2 separate regions of the Homo sapiens genome follow, and region 2 is linked to region 1. The links are contacts of gene promoters, found by promoter capture Hi-C in human tissues and cell types (Jung and others, 2019). All regions are on one chromosome and are shown on one strand. Each heading gives the region's core, a stretch centred on a gene start or on the middle of the fragment in contact. The rest is flanking DNA. Distances are from core to core; before and after follow the strand shown.

Evidence for each region. Contacts are between HindIII fragments. The study calls those that stand out against the background at their distance.
Region 2: a contact is called between a fragment that was not itself captured here and the fragment with the promoter of ARHGAP12 in region 1, in 1 of the 25 tissues and cell types used here (dorsolateral prefrontal cortex).

What each region holds. Positions count from the first base shown.
Region 1 is chr10:31,926,954-31,934,290 of GRCh38, forward strand. ARHGAP12 (Rho GTPase activating protein 12) reads right to left here and starts at 1,878. Exons shown (of 20, transcript NM_018287.7): 1 at 1,730-1,878. LOC107984219 (a long non-coding RNA gene) reads left to right here. Exons shown (of 3, transcript XR_001747415.2): 1 at 1-1,090; 2 at 1,709-1,869. RefSeq lists a silencer at 1,550-2,049. The HindIII fragment of the contact is 14,818 bases long and covers 1-7,337 here.
Region 2 is chr10:30,676,575-30,683,235 of GRCh38, forward strand. No RefSeq gene overlaps it. Among named protein-coding and RNA genes, the nearest start is that of LINC02644, 43 kb to the right of the region's middle. RefSeq lists enhancers at 5,348-6,547, 5,858-5,997. The HindIII fragment of the contact is 6,171 bases long and covers 1-4,388 here.

The DNA.
Region 1 (7,337 bases), core at 628-3,127:
TCAATGAGTCATCAGTCTTCTCCAGCTTGATGAAGTACGAACAGAAATCTATCAACAAATATTGGCGCATAAATATACATACACACATTATATTACACTTCTGGGGTTTCTTTTTCCCCCACAGAGAAACACTTTTAGAACAGTGGAGCCGCATGCAACCAGGGGTCGCACATATGTGCGCAGACGGTCTGGCTCGTCAGGTGGCATGGGTGGGGGTCACGCTTTCACTGCCTGCTTTGGGCTCTCAAAACCCAGCTCTGAAACGTTTCCAAGGCAAAATAAAAATAGCCAAAATGCCTATTCAGACCAGAGGAGGTAGAGGAAGATGACCGATTCTGTAAAACACCCTCCTACAGATAAAGAAAAGGCGATATGGGCAAGTACACACACATCTAGGCCATCGTTCCCGACTTTTAAGTATGAAAGAGGCGTGGCTAGGGGCTAGATACTTATTTTTAACACTTCCATTGAAACACCCGGAGTCTCCCAAGGTCTAACCTCTAGAAGTCGGGTGGCAGAACCTGAATCAGAACCCGAGTGAGCCTTCCTTCCTCCACCACCTCCCTTTAGGAACGCATGCCTAAATAGTCGATAAAATCTACTTCTCAATGTCATGATTAACCCAAAAGCCAGCCACAACCAATCGTGTTATTAGAGTGCTAAAAGCCTCTATCCACAACAAACACTCCACTTGGGATGACATTAAAACTTTCGATAAAGGTGTACTTTCAACGTCGTGCTTTAGCCTTTGAAAATACATTTACAAAACTGCAGCTGCAGTCAAAAGGAAAACATCACACGCCTCGAAAGCTGAAGGGCGTGCCTTTTTCTCTAACGAAGACCGTGTGGCCATTTCTTCTCAAAGGGTCTGCAGTCACTTAAGATAGCAACGCGTAAAGGACAGCCGTTCTGAGAAGACAACCAGCTCCCCTGAGATGGGAGGCGGGCTGCACGCTGGTAAAGAGGATTTTTCAATTCAAGGACTTTGAGGAGATTCCGCCCAGATAAGCTGGAGGGGAGCGAATGCACGTCCATCCAGCAGGGGCAGGGCACCGGGAAAGACCGCAAAGAAGAAAGTGTCCGGTTTAAGGTCAACAGTCCTCGAGGGACGCCCCAGGTGGATTCCCCGGGTGGGCTCCCCGGGTGGGTGGAGGCCTGCAAGCCCCACCGCGATTAGGGAGTGGGCCCAGGGCGCGGGAGGGGCCGGGCCGGCCTTTTGCGCACACACACACACACACACACACACCCGCCTTTTGCAGACACACGCGCGCGCACACACCCGCCTTTTGCACATAGACACGCACACACCCGCCTTGTGCACACACGCGCGCACTCTCCCGCACTCACACACACACCCGCGCACCCTCACACTCTCCTCCCTGGGGGCGGGGCGGGCGGGCGCTGCCCTCACACAGGAAGTCAGGAAACCCAGGGGGCAGAGAAGCCACAACTTCGGGCCATTTAAACCCTCTCGCCCACGTCAGCCAATAGGCTGCGCCGGCCCCCTCCCCCTCGGCGCCTAACCCCCGCGCCCAGAGCCCCTCGCTGCGCGCCCGACCTCCCTTTGCGCGCACCTCCGCGGCGCCGCCGCCGCCGCCGCCGCGCCTCCCGCACACGCCTCCCCCCGACTCCACCGCCCTCGGCGGGCACAGCCCGGCCCCGGCGCGCCTTTGTGCAGCGCCTCGCCAACCTGCCCTCCGTCCGCCAGGACCCGCGCCCTGCACCTCACCGGGAGCCCGGCGGCCTCGCAGCAGGCGGCTCCCTTCTTAGTCCGCCCCGCGGCTGCGGGTCGACGACGCGAGCCCGAAGAGCGTTCACACGGCTACGGCCGCGGCCGGCCCGTCCCCGCAGGCTGGCCTCTGAGGGAGGGTAAGTTACAGGGCACGTCGGAGCGCGCCGGCGCGGGGGCGGGGCTCACGTGACGCGCGGGGGCGGGGCGGGAGGCTCACGTGATGGCCCGGGCGAGCTGGGCGGGCGCGGGTCTCCGGGACGGTCTGGGGTGGCTAGGGGGTGCGGCGCCCGGCGGGGATCCGAATAGGGGGCAGCCAGCGTACGGTGTGGGAACTCGGGCCGGCGCGGGAGCCTGCGGTCAAGGGGGCTCAGCACTTTGTAAACAAGGAGTGGGAAGCGTTAAAAAAACGCTCGTAGGGAAAACCAGGGAAGGGCGGACATAGCGCCAGGGTGGCAGGAATGGAGCCCGGGCAAAGACGGCCCTGCCGTGGGCCCTAGCGCTCCCTTCGTCGGCCCCTGGAGCTGCGGCCGGGCGTGGGTCAGTCGTTCACGGGCCCGGAAATTCCACTGGGACACCCGAAAAAGTGCTGCACGCCGCCTGAGGGAGACGGAAAGGGACCCGGGGCACTGAGTCCATTGCTGGGGTCGCCAGGGTACGTGGCAGGACCCGCTGTGCACACTCGGGACTGAGGAGACCCCTGGGACGCGGAGAGCCGCTCCAGGGCAGAACCAGTCCGTCAGCATTTAGCCTTCCACGGGCCTGAGGGTGCGAGCCCTGCGGGGGCCACAGGGTCATTGTCCAAAGTCATCCCCGTTTGCACTGTGGCAGCACCGAACCCGGAAGTAACAGCTTTGGCAGGTCTTTGATGGTGATCCAGTGGCAGGAGGAGCTCAGCTGGAATGGGAATCAGGAAAGAGACCTGGCTTCTGCCATTTATTGGCACTTCACCCTTCTGAACCTCAGCTTTCAAATGAGAGCTGGCTTCTAGGTCTAGAATACAGTGAGTGTGAGAAAAATAACTGAGAGGCGTTGGGACTTCAGTAACTACTCATTCCTTAACCAGTTGTTGATTGTGCCTGTTGTGCCAGGATGAAATATTTGTTAATAATAGAGACCAGAAAGGAGAGGGGGGAAAAAACAAGCATATGTATGATTCAAGCAATGAAGAGCTACTCTCCGGAGTTGGCTCTTTCCTGTGCTTCACTTCGTACTTGAAGATGCCACAATGCCTGGCTTCCTTATCAACCAGCTGAACTCCGAATTGTGCCTTACAGGATGCGAAGAATCCGGTAGGGCAGTGGCAAGACTTTAACAGCTGTGGTTTACAACCTTCTTATTAAATTAAGTCTAATGCGAGCTAAAGTGTTAAGATAGTCTCCATTTAGAAAGGAAAGAGGCTTACAATGAGAATTTTTGAAAAATAAGCCTGAGACTGTGCTGTCTCTATCGTTGCATTTGCTTTTCACAGTCCTTGGCACCCACTGCCTTTTTGTCTCCCTCGGTTTCTAACCCGTTCTGTTTTCTTGCATTTGTTCAGTATAAGGAGTATTTCCTGTATGCTTTGGCAACTATTTTCCATAGACTCTGCTTGTGTTCTCCTTATAAAACCAGAACAAGAGCAGTGCAAAAAAGAAAACGACCCTGATAGGAATGCGCTGATAACCTTACTTTCCCTACTCTCCAAACCTGAATTGGGCACCCTTGGTTTTAGCAAGAGATAGAACTCAACAGTTTGCATACACTTGCGGATCTGCCTGTAACCCCACTTCCTATTTCACAGCCTAATCTCGGATGATACCACAATGCCCACAGTATGCTGATCACCACCAACAGCAGATGGAGGCGGATAAAAAGAGCTTTCTCGCTAGTGTGTTGTTTTAAAAGAACCTGATGGAGAGCTATGATCATATGTAACACTGCCTCTAGTTAGTTTTTAAATAACACTTGTAGCATATGTCTGGCGCCTGTGCTCAGGATTTCAACAGATCATTTTCAGGATTTTGACATTTAACTGGCTTCTTATGAAGTAGCAGAGAGTTCCAAAATGTAGAACTGAAATATAAGCTCCACACACAGGCAGAGATTTGAGTCTGATTTGTTTGTGTGTATATCCCAAGTGCCTAAAAGCACTTGGCATACGGTAGATGCACAATAGATTCCTGTTAAATGTATTTTTAGGTGAAAATGTAGTCTGTACTTTGCATAAACTTGTCCTACTTTCTTCCTAGTTCTTTAATAAGTAACCTACTTTTCATTATATATTTTTAAATGAAAAAACAAAATTATATCTGGCATCACTACTTTGGCTGGGCTATAAAGAAACAGGAATTTGGCAGTATGTATTAAAATTACAAATGCATATATACTCGGAGCCTTGAATTTCATTTCCAGGGATTTATGCCACAGATGTTTCCACACATAAGAAATAACAAGGTGTTTCTTATTGTTGAGAATAGCAAAAGATTGGAAACAAGCTAAGTATCTATCAACAGGATACTAGTTAAATTATGATAGAGCCATATGTTTGAACATTGTGCAGCTGTTAATCAAAAAAACAGAAAGTTCTTTGTTTTAACATTAAGATCTCCAAGATTTTTTTGTTAAGTGAAAAACACAGAAATACGGTACAGAATATTGTATTAAATTGTATATGCATTAAACTAGGACAAAGTAACATGAGGTATGAGAACACAGTAGATGGAAAGCATAAGAAATAGACTTCATTGTATTCATATTTAAACTTTTTGATATTCAAAATTTCAGAATGTTTTATCTATTCAAATAGTGAAAATGTTTAAAATTTTTCTGGCATCTTTTTGTTGTTGTTGTTGTTATTAAAACATTCAGGCTTCTTCTGTTTTATAAAAGTTTACCTGAGTAAAATAAACATATCAAGGAGGCTGGGTGCAGTGGCTCATGCCTATAATCCCAGCACTTTGGGAGGCTGAGGCGGGCAGATTGCTTGAGCTCAGGAATTCAAGACCAACCTGGGCAACATGGCAAGACCCCATCTCTAATGAAAATACAAAAAAAAAAAAATAGCCAGGCATGGTGGTGTGTGCCTGTGGTCTCAGCTACTCCAGAGGCTGAAGTAGGAGGATCACTTCAACCCAGGAGGTGGAGGTTGCAGTTAGTCAAGATTGTGACACTGCACTCCAGCCTGAGTAACAGAGTGAGACCATGTCTCAAATAAATAAATAAATAAATAAATAAATAAAATCAGGTAAGCTAGTGCTCATAGGCAAACTTTTGAAAACCTCAGAGTTTTTGTTCAGATTGAATGATGTCTGTTTCTTACCGTAATAATTTAAAATCCAGGTACATTTATTTTGAGGCTTAGTATACATTTTATCAAATGTATATAAATTTTCAGAAGTACTCTATTTTTCTTCAAGTTTAGTAGAGCCTTCCTTGAACAAGTTTTAACAAATTGGATCCTCCATTTTAAACAATAAAATTAGAATTTCATGGATCATTTGTCTGTTAATTAAGGTCAACAAAATATATTTTGGGAAAAACGCTAAAGGCATATGTTTCTCGTGTATCTGTTCACTCACCCATTTTGTAATATCAACTGCTTCTTGTTTCCATGGGTTACACAGATGCCCTGTAAATGATTTTGTCTGATATGTTTCAGTATTTGATTATATTTATTTGTGGGCTTAATTTCCAGAAATCTCAAAGAGAATAATGAGTACAATAGCAGTCAGATTTGCATAACACATCTTTAAGGGTTTTAGGAGATTTATTAATATTTTCTTGTGAAATCTCACTGCTTTCACTATATAAATTCATATGATCAGTTTTAACTATTATTAAAGACAAATATTAGTACTTGTGGTCAGGTGTGGTGACTCACACCTGCAATCCCAGCACTTTGGGAGGCTTAGGCAAGTGGGTCACCTGAGGTCAGGAGTTCAAGACCAGTCTGGCCAACATGGTGAAACCCCATCTGTACTAAAAATACAAAAAATTAGCTGGACATAGTGGTGCACGCCTGTAGTCCCAGCTACTCAGGAGGCTGAGGCAGGAGGATTGCTTGAACCCGAGAGGCAGAGGTTGCAGTGAGCCAAGATGGTGCCATTGCACTCCAGCCTGGGTAACAGAGGGAGACCCTGTTTCAAAAAATAATAATAATAATTAGTACTTGTAATAGTTGATTATACAAATTAGGACATTCTTGTCATACCCAACTAACTCAAAGAGTCCAGGAGTGGGGGGAAAAATCACTCAGGGCACATAGCACCAGCTCCAAAAATTAAATTTTCTGCAAGCCCAGCTGCTAAAACAGCCTGCTGTAACCATAAGAATAGTTTTACCTAGTAGCTGCTGAAATGACCTACTGTGACTCATAGACTAGTGTTACCTACTGCTGTCTTCAGCAATCAGAGTTTGCCAGCTCCCCAAAGCTTCTCCAGTAGCAGTGAGCTTTCTTTTAAAACAAAACATAACATTTCTCCTTCTAATAAACTACCAACCTTCTTTTTGTTCTTTGAGCATACCAAAGACCACCTGTATGTGCATATATATATATATATATATATATATATATATATCCCAAATTCCAATTCTGTGATTCCCAAATAAGATGTTTAGAGATTCATCTCTATATTTTATTTTGATTTCTACATACTTGAAGTCAGAAGTGGGATCCAAAGCAGGCTCACCTTGGAGAATTAGCACCTGGAATGTGGCATGAAGTACCCAAATTCAGGCCTCTTGAGCCCCCAAACTTCTACGAGCCACCTCTTTTCCCCATGGTGAGTCTCTGTTGGCTTGAACTCATATTTTTTCTTTTGGTTTAGTTCAGTTTTATTTGGGAATTGGTTGGGAGGCATCCTTCCCCGCTACCAGCTATGAAATCTTCTGTTTAGGGGAACTTTCTCCCTCCTTGCTATAGACTTGGTTAAGATGAATACGTTTTTCTTCCTGGTTATGAGGACTCCTGTTTAAAAGGGATTTTTTTCTCTCTTTTGTTAAAGAAGGCTTATTATCCCTCTTGGGGAGTACATACTTTATTTTCTGATTCATTTGCACACTTGGATTTTAAATTGGTTTTTGTGGCCAGGCGCCATGGCTCATGCCCGTAATCCCAGCACTTTAGGAGGCTGAGGCAGGCCGATCATTTGAGCCCAGGAGTTCAAGACCAGCTGGGCAGCATAGTGAGACCCCATCTCATATATATATATATATATATATATATATATATATATAAGTTTTTGTGTATTTGTCATTAAACCAAGTCAGCTAAATTTATTTACAAATGGGCTCTCAAAGTTCAAAGGCATGCCAAAATAATTCCCCCTTCTGAGACTCCAGCTGACGTGTTCAAACATTATAGGGATCATTAAAAAAGTCCGTTTTTCTTAAAACTAAAGTAAAGGGCCACATCTATGAAATCATACAGTCCAAATAGGACAGATATCTCAATTGGTATCTTGAGGCTCAAAGACTCACATTCAAGACTCAAAGATTGCCTCACTGCAAAGTACTGTCACAAAGCTACCTGGGACTCATTCTTCCCCAAAACCTTTCCATCCCCTTCCTCCTCCTCCCCTTTATCCTTCTCTATGCTAAACTCTCTTTTTCCAAAACTCCTCAACTA
Region 2 (6,661 bases), core at 53-2,552, 1.3 Mb before region 1:
GTGCTGAGTGTGCATCTATGAGAGCGTGTCTGTGTGTGTGTGTCTATGAGAGTGTGTGTGTGTCTTTAAGTGTGTGCCTATGTGTGTTTAATTGGTTCTTCATATATTTAGGGTCAGTCACACACACACTGATCCTTGGCTCAGATTTTCAGGTGGACTTGATGGCATTAATTCACCTCATAGTCATGAAACTGGTTTAAGAGGAGAGTGTCCCCTTTCAGCCTCCAAGCCTGGATCCTGAGTCAGGAGCCCAGGAGATGCGTCCGTGTTCTTTGCTCCGGCTCAGTGAGGATGTTGTCCTGCTCAGTTCATAGAGGAGGAGGATATGGTGGAGGCAGTTTGGGGTGTGGAGGGACAGGGAGGAAGACTCAGAGAGGGGAGGCCCCTCCAGTGACCCTATTAAAGAACCAGGGGGAGCTGGTTCCAATGGCCCTATTAAAGCAAGAGACCATGAACCCCCTCACCCTTCCCTCCATCCTCGCTGTACTCGCTCTGGAAGGGAGACCTTGGACTCCCACCCTGGAAGGGAGACCTTGCCTGGACTGAGCCACTCCGTAGGTGAATAACATGAAAAATATTAACAGTTGTTTTTTTATTTCCCCGTGGAATGTCCTTGGTGTCAAAACAGCTCCGCTTTTCCATCAATGCCAGGTTCCCATCTCCTCTCTGTAGGGCTTTGCCCCATCACTTCCCTCTAGGGCCTCTGTCCCCTCCCTCATAGGGCCTCTGTCCCCTCCCTCTAGGGCCTCTGTCCCCTCCCTCATAGGGCCTCCGTCTCCTCCCTCTATGGCTTCTGTCCCCTCCCTCATAGGGCCTCTGTCCCCTCCCTCTAGGGCCTCTGTCCCCTCCCACTGAGGCCTCTGTCCCCTCCCTCTAGGGCCTCTGTCCACTCCTACTAGGGCCTCTGTCCCCTCCCTCTAGGGCCTCTGTCCCCTCCCACTGAGGCCTCTGTCCCCTCCCTCTAGGGCCTCTGTCCCCTCCCACTGAGGCCTCTGTCCCCTCCCTCTAGGGCCTCTGTCCACTCCTACTAGGGCCTCTGTCCCCTCCCTCGTAGGGTCTCTGTCCCCTCCCTCTTAGGCCCTCTGTCCCCTCCCTCTTAGGCCCTCTGTCCCCTCCCTCGTAGGGCCTCTGTCCCCTCCCACTAAGACCTCTGTCCCCTCCCTCTAGGGCCTCTGTCCCCTCCCACTAGGGCCTCTGTCCCCTCCCACTAGGGCCTCTGTCCCCTCCCTCTAGGGCCTTGCCTCCCCAGCAGGACTGGGGCTTTCTTAGCTGTCAGGTGGCCTCTGACAGTGCCGCGATGGGCCTGCTCCAGCAGCACCAGCAGTTATTGAATGAGTGGCTCAGGGTTTCACATGCGAAGCTGACAGGGAAGGTGTCTGGGGTCCTCCCGTAGTCATCTCGCCTCTTCACAGATGGAAACTCCCCACTTCTTCTCCCTGGGGCGGCCTTTCCCTCACTCTCCTGGTTCCTTCCCCCGAAGCTGGAAATGCTGGTTTTAAGAGCCCAGGCCCCACGTACCCAGCCAGTGTCCACCCCAAGAAAGGGGCTGAAATGTGGAGCAAACTTCCTATTCCATCACGAACGGGGGAAATGAGCTTGTGTTTCTTTGAAATAAGCCAATATTAAACTTTAAAGGAAAAGATATATTACTGAAGTCTTTAAGTGTATACAGTCGGCCCTTCATCTCTTCCAGTTCCGCATCCAAGGATTCAACCAACTAGGGATACTTGGGAATAAAACCAATAAGAAAGAACAATACAACAGTTAAAAAATTAAAAACCAATACAGCAGAACAACTATTTACATAACATTACCTTGTATTAGGTATTATAAGTCATCACGAAATGATTTAAAGTACACAGCGGGGATGTGCACAGGCTGTGTGCAAATCCTACCCCATTTTATTTCAGGGACTTGAGCATCTGTGGATTTTGGTATCTGTAGGAGGTCCTTGAACCAGTCCCCCATAGAAGCTGAGGGACAACTAGATATATTTTTCAGAAGAATTTATTTTTTTGGAGCAGTTGTAGGTTCACAGCAGAAAGTACAGAGTTCCTACATCATCCCTGCCCTCCCACACACAGCCACCCCAATTATCAACATCCCCCTCCAGAGTGGCACATTTGCTACCATTGATGAACTTACATTGACACATCACTATCCCCAAAGTTAATAGATTATGTTAAAATTTACTCTTGGTGTGGTCCATTCTCTCGGTTTTGACAAATACATAATGACATATGTCCACCATTACACTATCATACAGAATCGTTTCCCTGCCCTGAAGATCCTCTGTGTGCTGTCTCTTCGTCACTCTCACTGCCCAGTCCTTGGCAACCTGTAAGTTTTTACTGTCTCATAGTTTTGCCTTTTCCAGAATGTCATCTAGTTGTAATCATACGCTATGTAGCCTTTTCAGATTTGCTTCTTTCATTTAGCAATATACATTTAAGATTCTTCTGGCTGGGCGTGGTGGCTCATGCCTGTAATCCCACTTTGAGAGGCTAAGGCAGGCGGATCACGAGGTCAGGAGTTCTAGAAAAGCCTGGCCAAGATGGTGAAACCCCGTCTCTACTAAAAATACAAAAATTAGCCAGGCATTGTGGCGGATGCCTGTAATCCCAGCTACTCGGGAGGCTGAGGCAGGAGAATCGCTTGAACCAGGGAGGCAGATGTTGCAGTGAGCAGAGATCGTGCCACTGCACTCCAGCCTGGGTGACAGAGCAAGACTCCATCTGAAAGAAAAAGAAGAAAGAAAGAAAGCAAGAAAGAAAGCATGAAAGAAAGCAAGAAAGAAAAGAAAGAAAGAAAGAAAGAAAGAGAGAGAGAGAGAGAAGGAAGGAAGGAAGGAAAGAAAGAAAGAAGGAAGGAAGGAAAGAAAAAGATTCTTCTATGTCTTTTTATGGTTTGAAAGCTTTTTTCTTTTTAGTGCCAAATAATATTCCATTACCTGGGCATGCCACAGTTTACTTATCTATTCATCTACTGGAGGACAGTTTGGTTGCTTCCACATCTTGGCAGTTATAAAAAAGTGCTATAAACATCCATGTGCAGGCTTTTGTTTGGACATAAGTTTTCAACTCATTTGAGTATCAAGGAGCATGATTGCTTTATCACATGGTAAGAGTATGTTTAGTTCTATGAGAAACCTCCAAACTGTCTTCCAAAGTGGCTGCACCATTTTGCATCTCCACCAGCAATGAATGAGACTTCCTGTTGCTTCATATCCTTGCCAGCATTTGATGTTGTCAGTGCTTGGGTTTTTGCCATCCTAATTGATGTGTAATAGTGTCACTTTGTTTTAATTTGCAAATCCCATCATTAGGGATTTGCAAATTAGATATTCAGCATATTTCCATATGCTTATTTTCTATCTGTATATCTTCTTTGGTGAGGTATCTATTTAGATTTTTTTCCCATTTGTTAATCTGGTTGTTTGTTTTCCTATGGTTGAGTTTTAAGAGTTATTTGCATATTTTGGGTAACAGTCCTTTATCAGACATGTCTTTTGCAAATATTTTCTCCCATTCGTAGTTTGTCTTCTCATTCTTTTAACAGTGTCTTTTACAGAAGTTTTTAATTTCAGTGAAGTCCAGCTTGTTAGTTATTTCTTTCAAGGATATTGCCTTTGCTGTTACATCTAAAAACTAATCATCAAACCCAAAATAATCTAAATATTCTCCTACGTTATCTTCTAGGAGTGTTATAGTTTTGAATTTTACAGTTAGGTCTTTGTGATCCATTTTGAGTTAATTTTTGTGAATGGTGGAAGATTTGTACCTGGATCTTTTTTTTTTTTTTCACATGTGAGTGTCTAGTTATTCCAGCACCCATTTGTTGAAAGCAGTATCTTTTCTTCATTCTATTGCTTTTGCTCCTTGTCAAAGATCAGTTGACTATATTTATATGAATCTACTATTGAGCTCTCTATTTCATTGATCTATTTGTTTATTCTTTTACTAGTACCACACAATCTTGATTACTGAGGCTTTATAGTAAGTCTTGAAGTTGAGTGGTGTTGGTCCTCCAACTTTTTTCTTCCCCTTCAGTGTTGTGTTTGCTATTCTGGGTCTTTTGACTCTCCATGTAAACTTTATGATCAGTTTGTCAATATGTTCAAAATATTTTGCAGGGACTTTGGAACTGCATTGAATTTATAGATCGAGTTGGGAAAAACTGACATCTTGACAAAATTGAGTCTTCTTATCCATGAACATGGAATATCTCTCCATATATTGTTAAGTTTAAGAGAAAATAACATTTGCCAAAGACATTTATGTTTCATCACTTCAAAATTAAAATTTCAAAAAATTCTATATTTTTACTTCTGACCAGTTTTTCCCAGCTGAATGTAAATATTTTATATACTAAGTATGTAGCACTAGCTCATCTGTGTTCTCAGAGGTCAAGTCACTCCTTTTCTTTCCTCCAGCAGTACTGGTGTCTTCATACTTAATAATACAGAGGTTCAGAGAAGAAAAGAGAGCATTTAAACAGCACACAGGCTCTGTCTAAATGGACTGTTTGTCTCTGTGTCAGGCTTCAGCCTGAATTCCTTTCTCTCATGCTTCAGGGCTGTACCAGAAGAAGATTTCACTTTATTCCCTTCTTTTCATCTTAGGAGCTGGTAGATGGTGACAGGACTGGAAAACAATTACTTCAAGGTCTGAGCCTAGACCCGTGATCTTCATCTCTTGTTCAGGCTATTTGAGGCTGCATGCAGTGACAAGGGACTGAAATTTCTCTTAAGGAAGGGGCAAAGCTAAATTTCTTTCACAGTGTGTAGAAATCGAAATGATGCTAGCGTTTTTGAAAACTGAAAAGTACAACTTTATTACTTTGACCTTTTTTCTATTGCTTAATACGTGCTCTTATAATTTCTTCCTTTATAGTTTAGTTTAACTAGATGTGAATAAGATAAAAATTTAAAAGCCAGATCACAGTATTTTCTTCCCATGAAGCTCTCCGGTTGTGGAGGAGTTTTACCCTTAAATCTACCCTAATCCTTATAATACGACTTAGTTGTGCTCTCTCTTGTTGGATCACATCCCTGTGTGAGAAACATTAAGTGAGATTTGCTATGATTTCTCAGTCGATGTATAAAGACAGAAGCAAACCCATCAGCAACATCATGCAACCTAAAAGCATTCATGTTAATTCATTCTTTGCATAGTTTCCAGCTGTGACTTACCAAGTCTCTGACCATCTTTAAAAGAAGACCGTCCTTTCTACCTGTTTCACTACCTTCTATACACACACACACACACACACACATGTGCATACACATACACAAATACTCATTTTCTCCTCCACCCTCTCCCTCTGCCTCTCCCCACCACATTCATGGGATCTATCTTTGAAAGAATAAAGGACAGATGGGGTAGAGGTTTCTGTTCAGATTCTTCTCCAATTCTCTCTTACGATTCCAGTCAACACTCAACTTGTATCGGCTAAACCTGGGAAATGCTACAGTACTTATTAATGTACATATGTCCTTCTCTAAACAAGGAAAGAAAAAATTAAAAGGAAAAAACAAGACAATAATGAAGAAGCTGAGAAAAAGCAAACGGACAAAGATATCCATCTTCTTTGTTTTCACACTTTGAGTTCAAAATAGAAGAGCAACTTGTGATAGATTTTTGTTAAATTCTTTGGAGTATAAACAGCCTATATATTATTTACCTCCTTATAGAGCCATGTAAAGTCAGATAGCAGGAATTGGGGAGCCATAAGCCAACCCTACTAAGTAGCAATGTTAAGTAGAAATTTTTAGAGAAGCAAAAACGTTTATGTTTAATATTATCATTTAGCAGAGATTACAAATTATTTGTTCTTGACCTAGATCTGGCAAAGAAATGGAAGCTTTAAATTCTAAGAAGGTCATATTGTCCCAGGGTTCATATCCATCATGTGCATGAAGGGCTCTGGGGGAATCCCAGTGCTTTGAAAAACAAAATTGTTGACTCAAGGCCACCATCTTTCTGAGTCACCATCCACACCCACTACCCCACCCCGGACTGTCGAGATGCCTGAGATAATTCACCGCAGAGTTGACTAAGTGAATAGTGAGTCACCATAGTGATGGCTGGACCTTTGGAGACGCCAACTTTCTTGGCACTTGATGTGTTTCTTGGAAATATTTGAACCCAAGTGCCATCTTGGTTTGATTAAAATTCACTCCTGAAACTTCATTTTCAAAGAAAACATATTCTCTTTGTTGAATTTTGATGAGGTCTTTTGGGCAAGTGAACCTCATCGTTTATTTAAAAAGGATACGTGATTCAGAGAGTTACTTGGAATTAGGAGCTTCTCGCCAATCATAAGCAGAAAAGTTAGGGTTTTAAAAAAATCAGTAAATCTTAATTTTGATAAAATGTTAAACTTATAGAAAAATTTCCATTATAGGCAGAGCACTTTCGTACCCTTTACCAGAACCACTCATTGTTGACATTGGCCCCCCTCCTTCACTCTCGCTCCCTTCCTCCCTCCACTCCTCACCCCACTTTCTTGCCTTCTCTTCCCCCATCTCATTTTTCCCACCCCAACCATGTGCCAGTAGTTTGGAAACATTGTGCTCCTCTACCTTTCAATATTTGACTTTATTTCCTAAAGTCAAAGATATTTCCTCGCATAACCACAATATGGTGGCCAAGAGGAGGAA